Regions from separate parts of the Homo sapiens genome. Here all the other regions are linked to region 2. Evidence: promoter capture Hi-C in 16 types of primary human blood cells and fetal thymus (Javierre and others, 2016). All regions are on one chromosome and are shown on one strand. Each heading gives the region's core, a stretch centred on a gene start or on the middle of the fragment in contact. The rest is flanking DNA. Distances are from core to core; before and after follow the strand shown. Region 1 has its middle 23 kb from the start of ERAP2. Region 2 holds the start of LIX1 (limb and CNS expressed 1). Region 3 has its middle 6.1 kb from the start of ERAP2.

Region 1 (3,515 bases), core at 900-3,399, 290 kb before region 2:
ACAGATCAGCATTTAGCACGGTCTCCTACTGTGTTTAGACTGGACTGCTTGATTGAGAAATGATGTCAAGCATTGTTCTGATGCTGCTATTCTCTGGTTTCTTTCTTTTCCCAGGCTGGATTCTATAGGTTTGCACCCAAACAACCTATAGGCATGACACAGCAAACCCTCACACAAACACTGGTTTTGCTTTATGAATTCAATCCAAGACAGGGAAAACAGTCTCAATTTTCTGGCACTCTCCCTCTTGAGCCCTGGAACTGGAGAAATTCTATGACAGGCTATTCCTATGTTGAAGTAAGAGATGCACAGTCAAGAAAAGCCAAGAAACTCAAGTAAGTATTGTATGCCGGCACCAGAAGCACAGGACTGCTCTGACTGAAAGTGGCAATAAAGGAAAGCTGAGACACGTGGGAAAAGGGACAAGAGCCAGAAGAAATACAAAAGGAAAAAAACAGGCAGAGTAAAGGACAGCACAGAATAGACATGGTGGTGTGGAAAACAAGCAGCAAGCCGTCTGACAGCTGAGAAGAGCAGCAAAGAAACTTAGAGCAGTTCTGTCATGTGGAGAGAGGGGCAAATAGCCCCCAACCCCAAAAAGCGTGGTAATTAAGGCATTCACTCATTCACTCATTCATTCAACAAACTTACTCTGTGGGAAAAGCTTAAACTTGATTCACTTCTAAACACCCACTTCTATTATTTTTACATTTTATTATGATTTAAATGTTATTATTAAAAAATGTTTTGGCCTTATATACTCAGGATCATGAAATCTGGCAGAAATGACATAGATAAAATATTGTTTTTATGAGAAAGGATGCTAACATGGACAAATGCTGAGTGTGGACAGATCCGTGTCTCCAACCTCTCCCATCTGTGTGTAATATTCAGTGCCCTCCCCACCTCCAGGTAGTACAGAAACCCTGATGTCTCCATCAGCAGGTGGCTTTGGGCCTCAAAGTAGAAGTCAGACATAGAAAAGAAAATTTAAATACAATTTTTACACATCTAGGTTTCTAGCCTAGGAAAGTACGTTCTTAGGTTTGATTTGAAAGAAATGTTTTTAAAAATTCCATTCCCCACATTTTCTAGTTAAAATTTAAGGGCAGGATATAGTCTCCCTATTTAACAATAACAAAAATGGTATAATTTTCCATAAATTTAGTACTTTCCTACTTTTGAAAGAACAAGATTTTAGATGCGAAGTCCTATATTCAAGGCTGACAATTAAAATAGACTTTTCAAAAAATCATTTTAAAATCCCGTAGTTTTAAATTTAGCTTTACAATGTTCAGATGGTAATGTGAATAGAAATGGTGACTCAATTACTTTTCAAATGAAGTACGTTGATGAATATATTCATTTTCTCTTGGCAGGGAATTATTATTGCCTTAAATTTAATCTTACTTCTGCACATGCTACAGGAATTTTCATGGCTAAACTGTTTTAAATTAACTTATGATTCATCCACCATGAAAAATGAGTGTACTCTACCCACAATGAGGCAAAGTGACAAGTAGACTGTAGACGACTTTAAATTTGATTTTCTCAGACATTTTATTAAAACCCTTCTCTTGGGTTGCTAGAAATCATGCCCCTGGATTCACTCCAGGGGCAGGCTTGGGAGACTGGACTGAGCTGGCAGGACATGCACTTGTCCATTTATTCAACAAATGCAGAATTAGGCACATAAGGGATCAAGGCCAGAGACTCTGCTAAAACAGAAAGAATAAATGAGCCTTTAGGTCCAAAAACCTACTGACAAAGGAATAGCCAAACTTTATTCTCTAAAGATAATATTGTAGCCCCTGATCCCAGGGGAGAGGTTGTTTGCTCTCTGCCCCAGTTTGAAGCAACCTGAGGGCAGAAGAAGGAAAGAACAGGATCTAGACTATAGTGGAAAGAGATGAGAAGTCTGCAGGTAAATCTAATTCTATGATTCCAGGACAGAGAGGCCAAACCTGCCTTAGGTACACTACCGACTTCAAAAGCATTATTCCAAAAGTCAATATCAATGCCTTATATACTTATCTCTAGTTAGAAGTGTGTACAGATGAACAAATGTCTAGAACTGGGAGATATAAAAGCAGCTCTTAGGTAAGAGGACAGCTACAATCAACTTAATTTGGCTCAATGAACTCATCTTCTCCCAGGAAGGGTTTTATGATGTGTATTTATTCACATCATAGAATAGGGAACAAACTTAAAAAGGCAAAACTCATTTTGCACACAGGCCAGTGGCAGATGAGAATTTGGAACTCACAGTGAACTGTGGCTTTGGAAAGATCACCCACTTCATGTAGTATTTTAAATGTGTTTTGTGAGCGAGTACCTAAGGTAGTAGAAGACACAGTTACAAGTATGATCAATCAACCTTAGGCTATTTAAAAGTTCTAAAAAAAAAAAAAGAAGCATGAGGACTTTTCTGCACCTTAGAAAAGTGAACAAAATAATACATGCTCTTAACAGTGATAGCAATTGCATTTGTGCCCACAGAGGAAGAAACATTCATTTATAAAGGACAGGTAAAAGATGGGTTTTGAAAGATGTCACCTCAGTGAAAGAAATCTGTGAATGCAGCCATTTCTGACTTTGTTCTGAGTCAAATAACCTTGTTCTAACCATTGCCTTCCCTCCCAAATCTTGAATAAACACAAACACACACACACACAGCTATGTTATCGAGCTAATTACTTTAGTTTCCTTATCTATAAAATATGGATAATAGTATCAACCTCCTAAATCTCTTATGAGAATCAAATGAGATGATCATGCAAAGACACCACTTAGCAGTGTCTATCTGGCAAATGTCATTATGAGACTGCAGTCAATGTTGCAAATTAGTACTATGTTTATGATTCAATAGATACCTCAAGTATGTAAACATACTTGAACTGGTCTGCAGTCCATAATTTAACTTGGATGTATAAATGAATCACTTTGAGCAGGTCTATGCACTCAAATCATTGAAGGCCAATGTGAAAAAACAAACAAACAACAAAAAAAAAACCTCTGAGCACTCTTAATTTTTATTTTTGTCTTATTTGTTCAAATGCCAAGTATAGGCATCTTACAATGATACCATGTGTGTCCCCAGAAAACTTCACATTTTGGAAAAATTGCACACTAAAAATAATAGGGTCTTTGGGAAAAATGCATTAATAATAAGATATTTAAATCCAATACAGGTTTGAAATCAAGACTCTAACACAAACAGTTAGAATCCTAATAAGAAATTATGCTATTATGGTTCAATTTCCATGGGCATTTGCCATAAAATTTCAGTCATTCCAACCCTTGTGGCCTTTTACCATGGAGTCATGCTTTATTTTTCTTTTAAAATGAATGTCCTTGAAACAGTCACTTCTATAGAAAGAAGTTTAACCAAAACTTAAAATACTATCCAAGGGTAGCCTTTTTAATCATTAATTTTCTTTTTAACATGAGAGAAATATCTTCAGGCTTCATCTTTTCTTGAAACTCCCCAAAGAGCTTAACATATAGAAAATCTA
Region 2 (3,957 bases), core at 855-3,354:
GGAGTGTGGTGGCAGCAACTTATGGGTATGCCAAAGAAAATGGGACCATATGCCAAACTCTGGCGTGTGCAGCACCTACAGCTTGCCAGGGCAATGGCATAGGCTCCAGACAGACTTTTAATGTCCTGTCCCAGAAAGTAAGCAGCCCATTCCCACTTATTCCACGAGATTGGTAAGTGGTTGGATGTTTTAAAGTTAGGAAAACTCCTGGTACAGAAATGTGCCATTTGGCTTACTGTCATTTAGTCATTTTTCAGATTAGAAAAGAAGGGAGAGAATCGGCAGTTTAATATTCACGTCTATTAAGCCATGCAAGCAGTTGCCGAGTAGCAGTCCATTCTAGGGTAAACAGGCAATGCTCTCTGGTCAAATATAGGTTCTATGTTAATGAATGAAATATATAAAACAGGACACTTATTTGTTCTCCCATATAAAAGAAGTCCTGCAAAGTCCTGGATGACAGAACTTAATGTATGCTTTATTGTAATCCTTTTTCTAGTCTATCTTCTTTTCTAAACTGTAAACAATCGCAGCAATTTAGTTCAGCTAAAAAATGAGCTATACAGTTTCACATTTGAACTTATTAAGTTTTCAATGGGCCAGTGAAAAACGTCCCCCCTATTTTTTTTTTAACTGCTTCCCCTATTTAAATGCTCAGCATAAGAACCCTGGTCCTATACAATTTATCCAAAGCTTGGGCAGCCCGAGAGCCCTTTTATCCCTCACTAGTGAATCAGTTCTATTGTAGGAGAGAGACATTCTTTCCTCCCCTTTTCGCTTAAAAAACATAACAAACCTGAATAGACTCCAGGCTAGAGTAGTGGAGAGAGTGATTTTTATTAGATCTAACATAGTTATTGGCAAATGCCTAAAGACAATATTTAAAAAGAGAGCTAGAGAAAGAAAAGGCTTTCACTTTATGCCTTAAAGGACAGATTGGTTACAATTTAACATCTAAGAGGAAAAATTTATAGAATTAAATGGCCTAACATTCCTCTTTCTTCAACATACATATGAGAAATCTAAGCTAAGAGGACATCTGGAATGGAACGTTATTCAGCAATCAGAAAGCAAAAATTCAAACCATTGATGTTTTGATGGAGACAAACACAACTAGATTCACAAAGAGGAAAGCTGCAACCTATTGAAGTTAAAAAAAATTCCATATGCATTTTACCTTTTGGGCAGTTCTATTTCAGAAGCCCTTTGTAATATGAAACCCACTGTAGATAAGATACAACATGAAGATAGTCTGTTTTGCAGCAGCAGGAAATCAAATTGGTTCCAGAAACGAAGTTATATGACAAATGGTTTAATAGTATTGCTAGAATTGGAAATCTTGATTGAATTATTTTTAAATCATTAAAAAAAAGATTTTGAAATAACTTTGCCATGCTGTATAAATTGGTGATGGTGGTAGGGGGTCCACACAGGGAGTGTTGCTGAGGTTAGGAGGCATCTCATTTTATTGGCCTTTTAACTAAAGCATTATAATCTGTTATCAAAATTTAAAAGTTCAGTGGTGATTTACTGTTAATTCTGGTTTGCAACAAATATTTTCAGACAAACACGATACTTGAATTAACATAGCTAATATGTGTTGTGGAGTATTAAACAGGTTAACAAATATTGATATATTCTAGTATCATTTCCAAATTATTTTTAGGTTTAATCTCAACACCAGTCAGCTTTGCTTTACTTAAAAAGCATCAGAAAAAGTTCATTAAGTCTTAGGCAGGTCTTGGATTGTAGAAGAGACTTCTAAGTAGTTAGCAAGATGTATCACTGACAGAATAACCCAGTGCCTAATGCCTGTAGGTGAAATGAAATCGTTCTTCTGGCTGAAGTCAGGAACAAGTTAAAATATCACTTAGAACACAGCATACGACTGCAGAGATTTAGGAGAAATCTTACTTAAATAGGATGTGACTTGACGTTTAGGACTATTTTCTAAAAAGTCAAAAAACTTTTCCCCCTTCAGTACTTACAGTCTTTGAAGACTAGAGCCGGATCTCTGTGAGGCAAGACTTGGGCAATGATGTGTCTCAGAGATTCCAAGGTTCTGTCCATCTTGGGTCTGCCTGTGTGAGCCTCCTGTACAGAGTGTCCTCATGCCTGAATTCTTGCAGTCCTGGGCTGAATTTCTGCAGCTCATTGATGCACTGGATTACCAAGGAATCCCTTTTAACATCTGCCAATCAGACATTTCCCAGAATCTAAAGACCCCTCAGGGGGCCCTCTTCCCAGGCTCACTTATCTTTGTTGTATGCTGAGCTAATTAGCTCGAAAGGCTGGCTGACAGGCGGGTTCCCATTGCTTTCTTCTGTTAAACACACCCACCTACAGGCTAGCTGGGGAAGCTCGCTAAATTATGAAAACAGCTTTCCTCTCCAACCAGATTTTGTCTGAATGCTGTGCAGCTTTCTGACTTGAGTATTTCTTCTGGCCCTCCATCTTCAATTGTGTTGCCCCCAGGAATATGGAATCAGGAAGGTTATTTCTCCAGGAAATTTCCTGAATGACAAGACAGCTTCCAGCTCAGGACTGCCAGCTATATGTTAACAGTATAATCCCTATAAATCTAAATTTTCAGTGTAATTCTTCTTTGGTAAAGGAGTGCTATAAAGATTATGGGGCTGGGTGCAGTTTATCATGCCTGTAATTCCAGCACTTTGGGAGGCTGAGGCGGGCAGATCGCTTGAGCCCAAGAGTTCCAGACCAGCCTGGGCAACATGGCGAAACCCTAACTCTACAAAAAATACAAAAATTAGCTGGGTGTGGTGGTGCATGCCTGTGATCCCAGCTACTTGGAGGGCTAAGGCAGGAGGATGGTTTGAGCCTGGAAAGTCGAGGCTGCAGTGAGCCCAGATTGTGCCACTGCACTCCAGCCTTGGTGACAAAGTAAGACCCTGTCTCAATTTTTTAAAAAAATCTTTCAATAACTACCTTAAGAAACATATATGTATTTTCTCGTCCTGTTTCTTTGTTTTATTTTTCTTTTTAATAGGGTCTCATACTGTCCTCCAGGCTGGAGTGCAGTGGCGTGATCATAACTCACCGCAGCCTTGACTCAAGTGAGGGGCTTGAGCCCTGGACTCAAGCAATCTTCCCATCTCAGCACCCCAAGTAGTTGGGAGGCACACGCCACCACGCCTGGCTAATTTTTAAATTTTCTGTAGAGATGGGGTCTCACTGTGTTGCCCAGGCTGGTCTCAAACTCCTGGGCTCAAGCAATCATCCTGTCTGGGCCCCCAAAGTGCTGCGATTACAGGCGTGAGCCACTGCACCCTGCCCTGAAATTTTTAATAATTATTAAGTGAAAGGAAGTGAATTACATCAGAATTAATTAAAGTCAACCTTGGGAATGATTCACTTTGAAGGGTAAATAGGGAAACAAATGTTCCCAGGCAAGCTGTAAGACAGTCTGTCAGGTTTTACTTGCCCCTGCCCAATAGAAGTGACTAAAATTTGGGAGGGTTGTGGGGGGTAACAAGCCTTGGCTTCCAGAAGAGTGGCTCCTGAATTCAAATGCAAGGCTTAATTTAGTCCCTAGCTGTATCCTTTTTTTTTTTTTTTTTTGAGACAGAGTCTCACTTTGTCATGCAGGCTGGAGTGCAATGGCATGATCCGGGCTCACTGCAGCCTTGACTTCTCAGTCTCAAACGGTCCTCCCACCTTAGGCTTTCTAGTAGCTGGGACCACAGGCCCACGCCACCGCACCTGGCTAATTTGTGTATTTTTAGTAGAGAGGGGGTTTCACCATGTTGCCCAGGGTGGTCTCAAACTCCTGGCCTCAAGTGATCCACCCATCTCGGCCTACCAAAGTGCTAGAATTACAGGCATGAGCCACCATGCCTGGCCTTTAAAGATCTTAAGAAAACAGAAATTCTTTTTCTACCTATTCATGATCTATACTACCTGTAACACTTTGTTAAATAATCTTTCCATAGAAGACAT
Region 3 (3,907 bases), core at 741-3,240, 270 kb before region 2:
ATGCTGTCTTTTGTGGGGAACTTTGACTAAGGCAACACAGATATATCTCTTTTCATTCTCACAACAGCCCTATGAAGTTTGTGCTATTTTCCCAACATTTGATAAATGAGGAACTTAAAACTTAGAGAAAAAGTGTCTTGCCCAAGTCCACTCAGCCATTCAGGAATTGAGCTGGGATATAAAGAGGGAATGTTTTATTTAAGATCCTGAACTCCTAACCCTAGGCTAGTGGTTCTCAAATTTTAGTGTGTATCAGAACCGTTTCAAAAGCTTGTTAAAATACAGATTTCTAGACGTCACCCCGAGTTTCCAATTAATTCCATTTGGGAAAGACTGAGAATTTGCATTTCTAACAAATGTTCAGTATGCTGCTGATGCTGTTGGAGGGGCAAGGCATACTCTGAGAATCACTGCCCTAGGCTCTACTAATGCATAGTTATTCAAGCATTCAAATTAGATTTAGTAATGGTATCATAAAAATTCTCACCCCCAGTCCTCAACTTCATATATCGAAATCCAAGCCTACCTATAAATCTGATTATCTTAAGTCTGGGTTGTATACTCGTAGAATGTTATTGCTTTTTGGATTGTGTGATTTGCCTCAAGATGTGTGTTTGCACAGTGTTAGCTCTACAACACAGGAGTCTCTGCAGTTACACTTGTTACCACTAGATGAAGCTCCTGCTGCTTTTGCTTTCTTCGCTCAAGAGAACTTGTTGGTTGGCTACTAGATGACACTGATTGTAATTTAAAATGCATAGCTAGGGTTACACAGAGTTGCTTTGCTCTGAAGATAGAGTGACCTGTCTTATTAGTCAATAAAATTCAGAAAGCTAGGTGGTAAACTGTACATCATGGCCTGAAGGCTGTAATCCATAACTTCTCTAGTTGATAACTGCTTATTTAAAAGTATGTACCCATCACCCTCTACCCTCCACTGACTAGTTTTATACCAAGTGTTGGCTTCAGAGAGGTACAAACAGAGGACACTCATGAAAAGAAGAAGACTCTATTTACTCCTGGATGAAAGTTGAGAATTAGCTTACTCAACATATTTCCAAAGTACAACCATGAGCCCACTCATATTTATTTAGTTTACAGATTTATTAGAAAATAACAGGTAGATTCAGGATTTTTATAGAAAAGGATGGTAGAAGGAGCAATCTGTCTGGAACAAAGGGCTTGGGGTTTTTTGCTGTATTCAAATATCAAAAAACATTGTCAAATGGCTCTGGAGAGTTAGGAAGACAGCTGAAGGAAACGAAGAGTGTTGAATTAGGGAAGCCTAAACATAAGTCTAGTGAAAACTCCTCAATAATCTGACCATGAAGACTGTGGAGCTATTGTAAGGTGATCAGACATCTATCCACATTGAAATGGTTCGGAGAAGAGGATGGGTGCCCAGGCAAAAGGCCCAGAAAAACCTTTTTGGAGGCTTAGGGAAATCTGCAAGTGGGACAGGGATGGGGGAGGGTGCTGCCTTTTGCTGTAATGGCACAGTATGTAATTGGACCAACCCTCCCACTGAAGACAATTGTAAACACAGACAAAATAGAAAAAGATCTTTAAAGCATAAAAGTCTAAAAAGATAGTGAAGAATTACTAAGCTAAGATTCTAGAAAAGTTGGAAACCCAAAGAGGTGAACGAGGGATTCCAGAAATTCCCCAGGGGCATTTGCAGATTTGGAAGAGGAAACCAAGAGGCAGACTAAGCTTTTGATAGTAGGACCAGGGGCTGCAAAATCTGAGAGCTGCTGAGAGTAATGAGAAAGGCAGTCTCTGACAGCCAGGAGCTGAATGGGCACTCACAGCCAGACCTCAGTGTTCTCCTGTTGAACACAAACAATTTCATGGAATATGAACATCAGACACAACCACTCTTGTGACTCTGATGGATCAAGACAAACACAAGCCAACTCCATAATCATGTCTGAACACAGGCAAACATGAACGTTGTCCAAACCACAAAAATGACCAAACATCTTCAGGTCCTGGCTAATATGAATGACTGCTGTTTCTTCACCAATTTCAGCCTTAGCCTTTGTCTAATCTCTTAATAAGATACGAAATCATAGAATCACCCCCACTTTCTTAGAACATTTAAACCAAAACGAAGCCCTGCCCCATGAAACTCTCATGCAAATCACCTATAACATCCCATAATGACCCCTTTCTGACACTCTCTTTCTGAGATGCCCCAGGGCTCCCCAGGGTGTTTTCCCTTGATGTAGTGAGTTAATAAACCCAGTTGGTTCAAAAATCACCACCAAGCTTTTTGCCTAGTTGGGTGGTGGATTTTTCTTTTATTACTATGCTATTGAGTTTTGTGCTGGAACACAGATAAGTTACTTGAGAAGTTTCATCCTTTTGGATCCTGCTTTTAAGATTTGTTAGGCAGGACCAGAGCAGAGACTTATCTGCTCCCCACTACTGAGGTAAGACACTTTAGCACACTCTACCCATTGGCCCATTCATCTTGAGGTTCTCCAGTTTGATGGGTAGGCACAAGCACTACTTCTGTCTCTGTGCAAGCACCAGGCTTTGTTCCCACTAATCCTTTTCAGTGGTTCAGTTTCTGGCAACGTTTATTTTCTGCTCATGTGCATATTGATCATTGATCAGCAGAATACTCCAGGAAAATCCTCAGCAGGTTTCCAAAGCCTGCCCTCCCACACACCGTTCGTCTCTTTCTGCAGCTCTCTCCTCTTTGGTATTCATCCTATGAACTCTGGTTTCCTTGCTCTCCCAGAATCTCATCTGCATCTCCTCAACTCAAAGAATCTGCTGGGCTCTGCCTTAGTTCTGTCTCCCTGCAAAGCAGCCTGGAACCTCTCTCAAGGCAGAAAGCTGGGAAAATCACAGAGCTTGCCTATTTGTTTCCTTCTCTCCAGGGATTGCTGTCTTGGGTTGCCTGATATTCATTGTCTTGTAAACTGTCTTTTGTTCATCTTTTTTTGGTTGTTTTAAGCAGGAGAATAAATCAGAGTCCCTACTCTATCTTGGCCAGAAGCAAAAGTTTTTTTAGATCTTTTAGTTAAATTTTTAAGTAGGGGAGAAGCCAAAACATTACTGATTTGGTTTAATCAGTTGGTTTTAATCGGTTGGTTGAAAGCATGCAAATTTACTTTCAAAATATTTAACAAGCTCAGAATCACCCTGGTTTATTTTGCCATCATTTTTCCTGTTTGAGAATGTGTCATCAGTTATTTAAATAATCTGTAATTGGAAAGAAAATAACAGAGGCACCAGCATTTTTCATTTGGCTACTAAATAAAAATTTTTAATGCTGTAAAATAGCAGTTGTTCAATGTCAAGTTTGTCTAATATTCTGTTCCACTTTAACAACATCAGATTTTTATGGCGGCATTTTTCTGTTTTTGTTTTCAGTAAGTGCTTTGTGGAAGGCATTGCAAAAGATAACCATTTTTGAAAAACCATCTTCCTGTCAGTTACTGATTTAAAATTCTGAGAATACATGTTTTCATTTTCTGTTACAACTGAATGAGTTTAAAAGAAGCTATAGATTGCATTTACTAGGTGAATTTCCCCTCCCTACCCCCATTTCTCATATTTTGCATAAGGCTCTGAGTCTTTATACTAACATAAACTTTCACTGATTTTCTTTAAATTAAAAATTTTAAGCCCATAATATAGACTCTGTCTCTATTTTGTCTGAAAAAGAACATAGGCATAACAATAATTCTTAGAAGTATTTTTAATAGATTTATAGAGATCCTTTTGAAAAATAAAATGGAAGTCAGAGAAAAGGAAGCTACTTTTTAAACTATAAGTTGGCTTCAGAGTTACAAGCATCTAGCACTGTCAGGGAGCCATTCGTCATTTTATTCATTCTGTATCTCCCCACTGCAGAGGTTGCAGTGAGCCGAGATCACATCACTGTACTGCA

Evidence for each region. The method cuts DNA at HindIII sites, captures the fragments that hold promoters and counts their contacts. A CHiCAGO score of 5 or more calls a contact.
Region 1: a contact is called between a fragment that was not itself captured here and the fragment with the promoter of LIX1 in region 2, in 14 of 17 cell types (total B cells, naive B cells, fetal thymus and 11 more). The highest score is 10.5, in total B cells.
Region 3: a fragment that was not itself captured here is called in contact with the fragment with the promoter of LIX1 in region 2 in 10 of 17 cell types (megakaryocytes, naive CD4 T cells, naive CD8 T cells and 7 more); the score reaches 8.2 in megakaryocytes.

What each region holds. Positions count from the first base shown.
Region 1 is chr5:96,851,453-96,854,967 of GRCh38, forward strand. It overlaps a transcript of ERAP1 not described here. Among named protein-coding and RNA genes, the nearest start is that of ERAP2, 23 kb to the right of the region's middle. The HindIII fragment of the contact is 2,974 bases long and covers 663-3,515 here.
Region 2 is chr5:97,140,507-97,144,463 of GRCh38, forward strand. It overlaps LIX1 (limb and CNS expressed 1), which reads right to left and starts at 2,105. Exons shown (of 6, transcript NM_153234.5): 1 at 1,989-2,105. The coding sequence starts at 2,070. RefSeq lists an enhancer at 2,052-2,121. The HindIII fragment of the contact is 8,667 bases long and covers 692-3,957 here.
Region 3 is chr5:96,868,400-96,872,306 of GRCh38, forward strand. It overlaps a transcript of ERAP1 not described here. Among named protein-coding and RNA genes, the nearest start is that of ERAP2, 6.1 kb to the right of the region's middle. The HindIII fragment of the contact is 558 bases long and covers 1,712-2,269 here.